2 separate regions of the Homo sapiens genome follow, and region 2 is linked to region 1. Evidence: promoter capture Hi-C in 16 types of primary human blood cells and fetal thymus (Javierre and others, 2016). All regions are on one chromosome and are shown on one strand. Each heading gives the region's core, a stretch centred on a gene start or on the middle of the fragment in contact. The rest is flanking DNA. Distances are from core to core; before and after follow the strand shown.

Region 1 (7,091 bases), core at 2,268-4,767:
TATAATCATATCTAAGATCTATATCTGGTATAACTTTTCTTGTTTTATATTTTATTATACTGGAACAGCTCGTGTCCTTGGTCTCTTGCCTCGGCGCCTGGGTGACCTGCCGCCCACAAACCAGGACCAGGGAGACCTGAAAACCTTCCCACAGGTGAGCTGTGCCAGAGTCCCATGAGATGCGGTTCTTGGGGTAGCTTTAGGGGCAGGGGTTAGAGGAATGCAACAAGGATCCCGGCCCCTGGAGGGACAGGAAACAGGTGTGGCCAGAACCTTATAGGATTCTGCATCCAAGATCCGGTCTCTGAAGAGTTTAAGAATTATTCATCATTCATTCCTTCCCTCCTTCGTCAGAGAACTACTGAGTGTGTGTCTCTCACTGGGCCCTGCGCTGGTGCAGGGTGTGAGTGGGGAGTGTTTTATCCTCCTGTGGGAGTGTCACTGACACATCAGGAAACACAGGATTTCAGGTCGAGTGAGGGCAGTGGTGCGCATCTGAGAGGGAGGCCCGGACATTCCTGGCACTGACTCTGTTGACACAAGGGATTTAGTTCTAGGTTAGGCTAATGTGTTAGGCTATTTTTTGTTACTATAAGGAAATGTCTGAGGCTGGGTAATTTATAAAGAAAAGAGATTTAATTGATGCAGGGATCTGCAGGCTATACAGGCATGGCACCAGCGTCTGCTCGGCTTCTGGTGAGACCCAGCAAGCTTACAATCATGGTGGAAGGAGAAGGGGGAGCAGGTGGTGTCATGTGGCAAAAGCAGGAGCAAGAGAGAGTGTGGAGGCGCCACACACTTTTAAAGAACCAGATCTCCTGTGCACTCAAAGTGAGAACTGACTTGTCACCAAGGGGATGGTGCTGAGCCACTCATGAGAAACAGCCCCCCATGATCCAATCGCCTCCCACCAGGCCTCACCTCCAATGTTGGGGATCACATTTCAACATGAGATTTGGAGAGGATAAACATCCAAACTATATCAGGAAAAATTGATTAATTTTCCATTTGCCCCTTACTCTCCAGACCAAAATCTCCCCCTCTGAGATGTGGATGCCCAAGAAAAAGGAAAGAGAACTTAGGACTGGTCTCAGGCCTGCAGATGTCTAATAATAACGCCAGCCGTCCCCTGGTGGAGAAGAGGCAGCTGTGGCTGCAGAGAGACCTCGTGTGACTCTAATCTGACACCTTTGACTTGTGTGACCCTAGTCGGTGACTGTCTCCCTGTTCCTCAATTTTTTTTTTCAATAAGTAGGATAAGTGCTATTTGGCTGTGACGTTGTTTGTGAATTAATCTCAAAATATTTACAATTACTTGACCTCAGCTGTGTATAGAGGAGCTGCCCAAAGGAACAGCATCTATGCTTATTTGCCTCCAAAAGAGAGGTCCCTGAGTCTGATCCCTTGTGGAAAAGGAGCTGCTGGGAGCATCTTCTCTCTTCTTTTTCCTCCCCCTGGGGATACTGAACTTCCCATGGAGTCATCTAAGTTCCCCTGGGCAGTGGGCTCATGCCCTAGTAATCTTGTCCATCTGTTCACTCCATGCTGAGTCTCAGGTAAAGGATGAGGCCCTGTCCTTGCCCAGGAGAGGTTCTTGGGGCTGGACCCTGGCTGGTGACCAACTCCAGGAGCCACGACCCTCAGACAGCTGGTAAATTCTTGCTCCCAGTCAGCCCTGCCCAGGAGGCCTCACTCAGCCCTGGCACAGGATCCCTAGGGTCCCCAGGGTCACCTGGAGTCAGGAATCTGGGACAGGGATTTGCACAGGGGCTCAGTTCTGGGAAGAGTTGAGCTTCTCTCTGAGAATCCTAGGGGGACCCCTCAGGCCAGGCCCTGATCCAGTTCTCCAGGGTCTTTCTTAGGGTCAGGTCCATGGGGAGACCATGGGGTTCTTTTCTGACACTGACCTTGCCCTGCTGAGTCCCCCCATCAGACTGTCCTTCCTCTGCAGCGAGTGTCTGCAGGGTCTGGATGCAGGAAAGGAATTCTGATCTGTGGAAGTTTGTCTCCCCCGTGTGTGTCCTGCACTAAATGTCCAAACCCTGATACAGAATGTAATGCAGAGAGGGCCACAGGCACAGCCCAGGCCTGACAATCCCATATGTGGGAAGTAGAACTGACCCCCAACACCCAGAGGTCATGTGGAAATACTCACGGTATACATGGAACTGTCCAGTTGCTTCTTCATTCACAAGATCTGACTTTATGACTTGTAGGGTGTAGAATCCTATGTCATTCTGGGTGACATTCTGGATCAGCAGGGATGCATTGGTGTATATTGTCTCTCGACCGCTGTATGCGGCCCCTGGGGTAGCTTGTTGAGTTCCTATTACATATCCTACAATTAGACTGTTGCCATCCACTCTTTCCCCTTTGTACCAGCTGTAGCCAAAAAGATGCTGGGGCAGATTGTGGACAAGTAGAAGCACCTCCTTCCCCTCTGCGACACTGAGCGGCATGGATTCAATAGTGAGCTTGGCAGTGGTGGGCGGGTTCCAGAAGTTTAGAAGTGAGGCTAGGAGGGAGAAAGCATCAGTCAATATTGGGACCCATGTATTGGGATGGAAAGATGGGGCCCTGGGTCCTGAGAGAGTCTCTTCACCCTTCAGCCTTGGAGAGTGTATGTGTGTCCCACTTGGTCAAGGTCAGTAACGTGACCTTTCTTTCTTCAGCACCTCTAACCTTGGCATTTTCCTGTGTGGAATCCCCTTCCCCAGGGGTCTGCATGGCTCCCTCCCCACTGCCCTCAGATCCTGCTCACATCAGGGCATCCTTGGGAGATCCCTCCCCTGACACCTCCTCTAGAGACCCTGGGTCTTCCCTTTCTGACCTTTTTCTGCTCTGTTCCCTCCAGGGCTCTTGTCAACACCTGAACTCACATTCTAGATCTCTTTGGGTGTCTATCTTCATCTCTGCAAGAGTGTAAGCTCTTTGAACACAGAGACTTGTCTGATATTTGTTGTACGCCAGTGCCTAAAATTTGATTGCAAATACTGGTGGATGAGTTAAGGAGTGGTGGTTATTTTGCAACTTGTGGTTGGTGGTCAAAGACAGGTTTTAGTGCCCTGGTTATATTTTTATTTAAAGTATCACCCTGATGTAATTCTTATTCTTATCATTTTCTAATTGTAGTGGCCAGTAATGATTAACTTGGAAAACATGATCAATGGATTTTCCTCCCTCTTATCAATCCCAGTTCAATGTGATTGTCTTGTTGTGACCCGTGTCCCTCTCTGATGTTCTCTCCCCTGAGGCTTCAGCAGAAGCCTTCTGTCCCCTATCAGAGCCCCATCCTCCCCAGGAGACCCCAGCCATTCTCTGTGATCCCTCCTCTTGCCCACTCCCAGGAATCCTCCACTCACCTGTGAGCAGAAGCCCCTGCCAGGGGATGCATTCTCTGTGGGGAGAGGCTGAGGGGGGCCCCATGGTCTCTGCTGCCTGCTCTTTCCTCCTCTGTGGAAAAGAGCCTGGGCTCCAGGAATGCTGTAGTCAGGGCTACTGTGACTTAGGCTCTGCTGTCCTTCCTCTTTCCATGCTGAGCCTCCTCCCAGGGCAGGAGCACTTTCCAGGGTCATGGGTGAAGCTCTGCCCAGGTCACCTCTCTGTCCCCTCCCCTCTCAGTTTTGCCTCATTTTCTCTTCTTCCTTTCTCCCTTCTGTCTACATTTGAGTTCCCCAGACCAGGCTCTGAGAAGCAAGGCTTACTTGGATCCCTGTTTCATAACAGGATGACCCTCCCTCCCCAGCGTGGACCTCTGCTCTGCCTTGGCCTTGGGTCTGTCAGCACCATGCAGAGTCCCTGGGGTCCCTGAACCTGGTGTTATTTTCTCTGTGACGGAGAAACTCCTTTGTGTGTGCAGGGTCTTCTTACTGTTCTCACATGTCTGGGAAGGTTGGATTTACTCCCAGCAAGGAGGTCACAGAGATGTCTGGGGTCCTACAAATGGATATATCTAGGGCTAAAGCCCGGATCTAAGATTCTGAGCTGTTCTTTCTGCAGCATTATGTGACTCTAATTTCCTGGGAGTAACTGAGAATGAGGCTTCACAGTGCTGTAGCTTTATGTCATCCAGACACCAGACATTTCTAGGCTGACTTTATGATTTTCTCTCTAGCTTGTACCACCTTTATTATTATATATTTCATCCTTTTTTCTAAATAAATTTAGTTTACAAAACATCCTGTCCTAGCAGGGATCGGTGGCTCAGATCTGTGATCCCAGCTACTCGAGAGGCTATGGTGGGAGGATGGCTTGAGGCCAGGAGTTGGAGACAAAACATCCTTGTCTTATGCAATATTGTCCATGAAATTACAGATTTGATGTGTGCTTAAATGTTTTCTCAATGTATATTAAAATAAACGCATAAGTATTAAAGTTTTTAAAAAGCTTACTTACGTTTCGCCTAAAATCAGTTTTTGGAAATGCTGACACAGTGGCATAAACATGAACTTTATGTCCAGATGTACCTGGGGACAGCTAATGGTTCTGTCACTTAACTATGTTGACTTGGACAAGTCACGTGGCTTCTATGATCCTTGATTCCCTGATTTGTAAAAGGAGGATGGTAAAATCCTCCTTGCAGAGTTGTTGGGAATAAGTGAGCTGCTGTGGGAGCCCCGTGCCCAGGCGGGTGTTGAGTACATGGTGGTTGTCATCGTGGTTATTGCTGTGGAATTCTGGTTTTCAAAGAGTGTCTACGCCGGAATATTGGGCTTGTGGCTTTCTGCTGATGTGGATGTGTGAAAAAGCTACTTTTGCTTGTTAGAACTTGTGGTGCATCTGTCATTATTTTCATTTCCCAGTTCCACTACCTATTTTCTCTGTGATGTTGGTCAAGTTGCCTAACTTTTCTGTGCCTCATTTACCTAATTTGTGAAATGTGGGTAACAGTACACTAGTGTGGGTGTGTTATTTCCCAGCTCTGACCACTAGAGGGCATAGAAGCACCGGCACCTACTAGCAATGGGCATATGGGCGCCCATGGTCTGTAAACATCATTCTCCCATGAAAGGAACCAGGGTTCCCTGGAGAAATGGCTGATTCCAGGGCTGGGGCAGGAAACCACAAGAGGAGACTGGAGCATCTTGCGGGGCCTGAGAGTAAGGCACAACTTGAAAAATGATGGGGATGTGTGGAAAGTATCACAAATGCCAACTAGAAGAAGCTCCCAATGGCCAATTTGGGGACAATATAGCAACATAATCAATAATAATAGTAATGTAGTCCAACCGATAAATACTTGAGAGTCCATGCTGATATATATATAAATAAGTGAATACATAAATAAATGAGAAAGAAGAACTAGCTCTTTCTTACAGCAGCGTTCCAGTTAATCAGTGTAGAAGCAATGATGGAAGCAGAAAATCACTGGCTAACACCACAGTAAGAATTGTTTATCGGCTACAATTATCTCTGGATTCTAGAAATTAATTGGTAAAAGTATGCTAAGAACAAACTGGCTATTTGCATATTTCCAAAGTACCTGTCCACAAGATACTTATTAATTACAATGAGATGAATAGTAACTTCACAGTAGAGAAACCTGGCAGACACCACCTGAACCAAGCGCTTAAAGTGAACCTCATCGGTAATGAGAGATATAGACATCCTGGGGCTCCGGCTGGGATGTCCTGAGAAAGACACATCGCTTCTGTGCTAATCTTGCCCAAAATGCATAACCTGAAACATCCCAAGGAAACATGAGACAAACCCAAATTGAGGGGCATTCTACAAAACAACTGACCAGACCTCCTCAAAAGCATCAAGGTCCTGAGAGAGGGAAAGAGTGGGAAACTCCCCCAGGTTGGAGGAGGCCTAGGAAATGTGACAGTGTTATTCAGTGTGGGATCCTGGGTTGGACTCTGGAGCAGAAAAAAGACATGACTGGGATGATTAGCAAAATTTTAATATTTCTTTTTTTTTTTTTTGGAGACAGAGTCTCACTCTGTCGCCAAGGCTGGAGTGCAGTGGCTCGATCTGGGCTCACTGCAACCCCCACCTCCTGAGTTCAAGAGATTCTCCTGCTTCAGCCTCCCGAGTAGCTGGGATTACAGGTACCTGCCACCACGCCTGGCTAATTTTTGTATTTTTAGTAGAGACGGGGTTTCATCGTGTTAGCCAGGATGGTCTCGATCTCCTCACCTCGTGATCTACCCTCCTTGGCCTCCCAAAGTACTGGGATTAAAGGCGTGAGCCACCGTGCCCGGCCCCATATTTCTATATTTTAAAATTTTTTGTATCAATGCTAGGTGACTGATTTTGATAATTGCTTTAGAGTTAAGGTTATTTGAAAAAGCTGGATGAAGGATATACTGGAACTCTGACTATTTTTACAATATTTTTGAAAGTCTGAAAAATGAAAAGTAAAAAAATGTAAAATGCATAAGATTTCTGTGAGGATAAAATGAGATAAATGTGAAGTGCTTAGAACAATGCCTGAGACACAGGAGTTCTTAAAACATGTCAGCTATTATTATAAGTAATTTTATGATTAACAAGTAATATTATAAGTAATGAGTCATCTATTATAAATCATATAAAATATGATTTCTTTCATAATATCCTCATATATTCTCATCCATTTCTTTTTTCCCTCTCCCCTGTGAAAAGCATATTGAGCATGTATGTCATGAAAAGATAAAATAAGATTCGATTTTATTTTGAGAATTATTTTGGGGGATGAGGAGGAGTGTCATTTCCTCCAGCTACGAAGTAGCTCAGACTCAGGCCCACATTGCAAAGTTTGCTTGGCTGGGAAACAAAGCTGGAGCCTGGCGGCCACCCACCGACGTGGTTTATGATGGCGCCTCCTGGCGGCGCAGAGAACTTTCCGCAGTTCCTCACCCTCGTGCTTTAGGAGCGACTTAGAAATTCTACACAGTCCATTTATTAAACCCTTTCTAGGTCACGCTGCGGATCATTTAATCTTCACAACAAGATTGTGAGAAGGGATATTTATTCATCTTAAGACGATAAAACAGGGTAAAAAAAAGTGAAGCGACTTGTCAGGGTTGCAAAGGGAGTGACAGAGCTAGGATTTGGATCTAGGTCCCCCTGACTTCCAGGCTGAGTGTAAATGTTCAGGTGAGTCT
Region 2 (6,968 bases), core at 4,222-6,721, 650 kb before region 1:
TTACAACCTCTGATGGCTGCCGCCCTAGCTGGATCCCTAGGAGTCTGAGTGCAAGACACCTCTTTTAGTATTCCTTCTCATCTTTTTACTTTGCATTTCCAGTTTTGCCTTGCACAAGGTCTCTTCTTCCTCTGTGGATCCTCTGCCTACATGTGTCTACCTGCTAATTGGACAGGCACATGCACACTAGTTTACCTTACTCCCAAAATTCAATTTGCGAATGGGACTGAAAAGCTTCCTGTTCCTCTCATGACACCGACATGACAAAAAAAAAGGTTATTCCACTAATTCCCTTACTTGTCGGTTTAGGACTTTCTGCCTCCGCTATTGCGCTCAGAACTGGAATAGCAGGCATTTCAGCCTCTGTCACGACCTTCCAGAGCCTCTCTAATGACTTCTCTGCTAGCATCACAGACATATCACAAACTCTATGAGTCCTTCAGGCCAAGGTTGACTCTTTAGCTGCAGTTGTCCTCTAAAACCGCCGAGGCCTTGACTTACTCACTGCTGAAAAAGGAGGACTCTCTATATTTTTAAATGAAGAGTGTTGCTTTTACCTAAATCAATCTGGCCTAGTATATGACAATATAAAAAAAAACTCAAGGATATAGCCCAAAAACTCGCCAACAAGCAAGTAATTATGCTGAACCCCCTTGGGCACTCTCTAATTGGACATCCTGGGTCCTCCCAATTCTTAGTCCTCTGGTACCTCTTTTTCTCCTCTTATTCGGGCCTTGTGTCTTCCGTTTGGTTTCTCAATTCACACAAAACCACATTCAGACCATCACTAATCATTCTATATGACAAATGCTACTTTTAACAACCCCATAGTACCATCCTCTGCCCCAAGATCTCCCCACAGCCTAAACTCCTATTCCATGTAACCTATTATAAAATTTTCTTTAAGGTCCACACAGCCCTTAATCCTGCTCGAAGCAGCCCTGAGAAACATGGCCCATTATCTCTCCATACCACCCCAAAAACAATTTTTTCGCCACCCCAACACTTCAACACTATTTTGTTTTATTTTTCTTATTAATATAAGAAGACAGGAATGTCAGGCCTCTGAACCCAAGCCTGCATGTATACATCCAGATGGCCTGAGGCAACCGACAAGTACAAAAGAAGGGAAACAGCCAACTCCTATCTTAACCGATTGACCAACCTTATGACATTCTGTCATGACTTGATCCTGCCCTGTCCCAATTGATCTACTGATCAACCTCGTGACATTCTTCTTCTGGACAATGAGTCTTATGATCTCCCCACCATGCCCGCAAGAGAAAAACCCCCTTTAACTGTAACTTTCCACTGCTTACCCTAGTCCTATAAAACTGCCCCATCCCTAACTCCCTTCACTGACTCTCTTTTTGGACTCAGCCTGCCTGCACCAGGTGATTAAAAGCTTTATTGCTCACACAAAGCCTGTTTGGTGGTCTCTTCACATGGATGCATGTGACACTAACATTTTTTCTTTTCCTTTTTTTTTTTTTTTTTTTTGAGATGGAGTCTGGCTCTGTCACCCAGGATGGAGTGCAGTGGCACAATCTTGGCTCACTGCAACCTCCCCCTCCTGGGTTCAAGCAATTTTCCTGCCTCAGCCTCCTGAATAGCTGCGATTACAGGTGCCCGCCACTGCGCCCGGCTAATTTTTGTATTTTTAGTAGAGACAGGGTTTTGCCATGTTGGCCAGGTTGGTCTCAAACTCCCGACCTCAGGTGATCTGCCTGCCTCAGCCTCCCAAAGTGTTGAGATTACAGGCATGAGCCAATGCACCCAGCCAAGTCTAACACTTTTTTATACAACCGACCTTCAAATATTGGTAAACATCCTTGGCCGGGCACAGTGGCTCATGCCTGTAATCCCAGCACTTTGGGAGGCCAAGGTGGGTGGATCACCTGAGGTCAGGAGATCGAGATCAGCCTGACCAACATGGAGAAATCCTGTCTCTACTAAAAATACAAAAAAAAATAGCCAGGCATGGTGGCGCATGCCTGTAATCATAGCTACTTGGGAGGCTGAGGCAAGGAGAATTGCTTGAACCTGGGAAGCAGAGGTTGCGGTGAGCCAAGATTGTACCATTGCACTCCAGCCTGGGCAATAAGAACAAAACTTCGTCTCAAAAATAAAAATAAAAAAATAAAAAAACAACCTCTATGTGCCACCTACCCCATCTTCCCTCGGCCGTTTCCCACGTAGGGTCACCTGAAGCCCCACACCCACTGCTCACTTTCCCACGGGCAAGTGAAGTGCAGCAACCACAGCCTACACTCTGAATCCTAGGGGTGTTCCCCAGAGCAGCAGAGCCACAGGAACCCCATCCCCGTCCTGGCACCTCACCCCTATCTAGAAGCTGAACGCTGTATCAGCTGATCTGGGGGGACTGATTTTTCCTGCTCCTGCTGCTGCTTAGTCATCCCACACCTGTGCAGATGTCTACTTTTTATTCAGTTTTATTTTGTAAGAAATATTTATCGGATCCTGCTGTGTACTGTCACTGGAGAGACAAAGGTGAATCACACCTGGTCCCTGCCTCACAGAGCTCCAGGCTATGGATGAAACCCACTCAAAGTCAGACCATTACCATTCAGTGAGAAACACCGTGACAGACATCAGAAAAGGGTTTTCTTTTTAAAACAAGAAACAAAAAAGCTTTTTATAGAGACAGGGTCTCACCATGTTGCCCACACTGGTCTCAAACTCCTGGACCCAAGCCATCCTCCCACCTCAGCTTCCCAAAGTGCTGGGATTACAGGCACCCATCCAACACAGGCTTTTTGACGCATCTCACTAATCCCCTGTGAAAAATCTTCCACTCTTGGTTTCCTGGGGTCAGTTTTCTTCATTTCAAGCTCAAAGTGAAAAAGAGAATACAAATATCCCTGATGGTCCTTTGTGCGGTCACAGCTGGACCCGGTATGTCCTCCCGGTTAATCCAGGGTGCTCAGGGCTCCCATTTCACTCTGAACGTCCTCTCTCCTATCGGAGCTCACCACGTCTACACCTGCAGCAGCCAGGTAGCTGCACACTAATAGAAAATCCAGCAAGTCAGAAAACTTGATTTACTCCTGTAACTTTGAGGCTACTGACTGTGTTGTTGAACTAATCCTATAACTTCCCTGCACTTTAATTTCCATGTCTGTAAAGTGGGGCAGGTGGATTCGGTCACCCTAGGTGCCACTGTATAGTGAGAGCTCCTCAGAGACAGCAGCACACCTGATCTCAGCATCCACCATCTAGTAAATACCAGGCACACACTAGGCGCTCAAAGTCTCACTGAATGTATGTGTGAATAAATGACTATATGAGAGCCATGTGGATCATGGACAAAGTCAACAAATATTTTTGAATGTCTACCAAGTACACTGTAGAATAGGGAAATAAGTAACCCAGGCAGGGCGGTGTTTTCTCCCAAATTCCCCTTACCTCCTCCTGAGGAATGGAGGGCCTCTGTACATCAGAGAGACTCTTGACACAAATAATGTTCTTGAGATGCATCATAAGAAGTTGTGATGTTAACAAGAAAAAAGTCCATTTGTCTTGGGGGTGTTTTATATTAATAGACCTAACAGACCGGAAGCCCCCTCCAATGGGACACAGGATGCAACACCCACCCCAAGTGCATGGAGGGGAAACCAGAGGGAGCAGGACCTGGAAGAACAGAGGGGTAAAGAGACTGAGGCACGGGAGGTAGGTCTGAGGAGGAGCTCCCGGCCCCTGCGGTGGCCTGGGTGTGGACTGATGCAGAACTCAGCAGCATAAGTAAAGTGGCCGCACCAGGCTCCATTTGTACATGGGATGGTTTTTCAGTAAGATTTTCTTTCTGCTAATGGGCTACATTTTCGCACACTTTCTAATACATCAGGCCCAGTTAATGGGCTACAAAACAATCATTCCATTCAACAGTCATTTATAGAATACTCCCAAAGTGCCAGACCCTGTGTAAGTTCAAGCAATACAAAAATGAACACGAACAGCTCCTGTCCTCTAAAATCCCCATCCAATGAGCTCCAGGAGGCACCTCTCCTACAACACGCCCCTGCTCTGCACGGCCCTCCTCTCTGCCCTCCACCAACCCAAATCCTCCCCCAACTCCAGCTCAAGTTCCACCCAACCAAGTCCCTCTCAGTCCCCCTGCACTCCTGCCACTTTGAGAGATGACTGCACCCATATCTCTAGGCTTTATGAAATGGATGTCATCTCCCTGGTTTTAGAATTTTCCAGAAAGAAGCCACATCAGTGATTTGCATCAGAACAAGCTTAGGCCCACCCTGAGCCTTCAACTTGGACACAGGCTCAGTCATAGCAGTCCCTGGCCCCTGCAGTGCTTTATAAACACTGCAGTAGCAAAGTCCACAATCAACTCTGTGACAAGTCAACAGGCCGAGATAATTTGAAAACGTGGAGAAAAAAGAATGGTCAAACAAAACCAAAGGGCTTTGACTCATGCCTTTCCTCTTTCCTTCTCTCAGGGAAATAAAGTCACACCCCCTGCTCTCACTCCTGCCTGGAGGCTTCCAAAAAAAGGGCTCCCTTGTTAGCCTTCCCTTCAGCCCCCATGAATATCACCCAGCATTCAAGCCCAGCCTCTCCTCTCCCTTTGAGCACATTTCCTAAAGTCTCAAATAAATGTCAAGTTTAGTGAGTGCTGATATTCTATGCCCCTAATGTTTACTTCAAGTATTATTACCTTTCTTCTTTTGCCCGGGGCCATTTCCAAACAAGGGCTGGAGCCAGGCGCCCCAGCAGCTGGGCAAACACACTTCAGGGCTCCTTCCCTCCTGTGGCTCCTGTTTCTCAAACCCTCTGAGACCTAAAGCTCTGGGGGTCTCTTCCCCCAACCCAGTTCCCTCCCCTTTAGACCAGAACAACTAAGCCATGGCCACCTTCCCGATGGACACACAAGGAGGCCTGGTGTCACCCACTGCTCCAGGGGCGGTGTTCTCGGCAGGGGAGCTGCCTCTTGTCCCGGATCCTGCTCTGCTGCCATCTTATGTGGCTGCAGAATTGGAGGGAATTGTGAACAGAGAGAGGACAGGGCAACTTCCCAGGCAACAACACTACTATTGCCGATATTTTGCCAAGGATGGGAGCAGGAGCACAGAGGGGAAACAGACCTTGTCAAAGTCTCTTCTACCAACACTTAGTATCCACTTTCCTGCCAAATATTCAGATAGAGAGGGTCATTGAAAGGTATAAGGAAATCCAAGCAAGAAAAAAAGATTTGAGGAAGAAATCATGAGGCATTGGGGTGTGAGGAGGCGGGAAAGAGTACAGGAGAGAACTGGCACAGCTGCCAAGTTATCAGTCACCTTCTTATGTTCTTAAGAATGCTGAATTTCTTTTGTTTGACCAGTTTCACCTCCCAGATTCCCATAAAGCACATGGTCTAATCTGTTACGTAACAGCAAGACAGCGTCACCTCACCTGTTCTCGCCCTCAAATGGGAACGCTGGCCTGGGACTAAAGCATAGACCACCAGGCTGAGTATCCTGACCTGAGTCATCCCCAGGGATCAGGAGCCTCCAGCAGGGAACCTTCCATTATATTCTTCAAGCAACTTACAGCTGCACCGACAGTTGCGATGAAAGTTCTAATCTCTTCCCTCCTCCTGTTGCTGCCACTAATGCTGATGTCCATGGTCTCTAGCAGCCTGAATCCAGGTAAACAAGACTGTCTATGAAGGGGAAAACGGGGGGAGAAATGTGGCAAAACAGGCCACAGACACATCAAAATGCAGCTTCTCTTAGCTATGGGGGATGGGGCAAGTGAGCCTTTCTCAATGCCAGTTTCCTCCTTTACAAAAAAACAGCAAACTGTACTTACACCCAAACAATGTTGAGAGAGTTAAACGAGATATTGTATGTGAAAATATCTGCAACTGGCCGGGCGCGGTGGCTCACTCCTGTAATCCCAGCACTTTGGGAGGCCAAGGCAGGGCGGATTACAAGGTCAGGAGATCGAGACCATCCTGGCTAACACGGTGAAACTCCATCTCTACTAAAAATACAAAAAATTAGCCAGACCTGGTGGCACGCACCTGTAGTCCCAGCTACTCAGGAGGCTGAGGCCAGAGAATTGCTGGAACCCAGGAGGTGGAGGCTGCAGTGAGCCGAGACGGCACCACTGTACTCCAGCCTGGGTGACAGAGTGAGACTCCATCTCAAAAAAAAAAAAAAAAAAAAAAGGAAAGAAAAGAAAAGAAGATATCTGCAATTGTAGCTGATCCCCCTCACACACACGTACGTATGTATGTATATACTAGCTCAACAAAGATTTGCTCCCATGCCTTCTCCCCCAACACTTTTCCAAAAGAGTAACATAATTCTCATGGCTAAACTTAATGATGATGGTGGGAGAGTGTTGAAGGCAATGGTACCTTTATAGAAGATCAGGAAGTCCTTGCTTCTATTCTTTACAGTGCACTGGAATGCCACCAACATGTCTTAATGCTATTTACTGGTAACGTAATAAACTAGAAAAAGCCTGTCACCAGGTAGTGTCCATATTTGAAGCTTTATCCATAGCAAGCCCTGCTGTAACAGCTCACATTTTGGGAAGCCGACTTTAGCTTAGGGGTTCCAAATCTGCTCCAGCTTTCACTATAAAGTGGCCCAGCCCTGCACAGAGCAACCACGCAGAAAAGACCTGATCCCCATGTATATTTCCGCTTGTGAGCACCATCTCCCCAAAGGCCACTTTGAGGTGAAATGGCTATGTTACATACTCAGCATCAACTTGGTCCTAAAATCAGGAGGCATTCTCCCTTCTCCACCCCAATTTCCAACATCCCCTCCTTTGTAGAGAGAGTGCTCTGGAAGCTGTTAAGCCCCATAGCCCTAGGGCCTAGACCACTGTTCTGAAAGGGAAGACTTTTCCATCACTATGACAGACACCCAGGCTAGAGTCCTCTGCCTGGATTCAAAGCTGTAGCCCCAACCTGCCTTTCTAGTGTACCTCCCTCTACT

The links. The method cuts DNA at HindIII sites, captures the fragments that hold promoters and counts their contacts. A CHiCAGO score of 5 or more calls a contact.
Region 2: the fragment with the promoter of CXCL17 here is called in contact with the fragment with the promoter of CEACAM3 in region 1 in 2 of 17 cell types (total B cells and total CD8 T cells); the score reaches 5.8 in total B cells.

What each region holds. Positions count from the first base shown.
Region 1 is chr19:41,793,013-41,800,103 of GRCh38, reverse strand. It overlaps CEACAM3 (CEA cell adhesion molecule 3), which reads right to left and starts at 3,517. Exons shown (of 7, transcript NM_001815.5): 1 at 3,363-3,517; 2 at 2,156-2,515. The coding sequence starts at 3,426. The HindIII fragment of the contact is 3,675 bases long and covers 714-4,388 here.
Region 2 is chr19:42,441,449-42,448,416 of GRCh38, reverse strand. CXCL17 (C-X-C motif chemokine ligand 17) reads left to right here and starts at 5,471. Exons shown (of 4, transcript NM_198477.3): 1 at 5,471-5,663. The coding sequence starts at 5,585. All of the region lies in intron 1 of LIPE-AS1 (LIPE antisense RNA 1), which reads right to left. The HindIII fragment of the contact is 2,256 bases long and covers 4,262-6,517 here.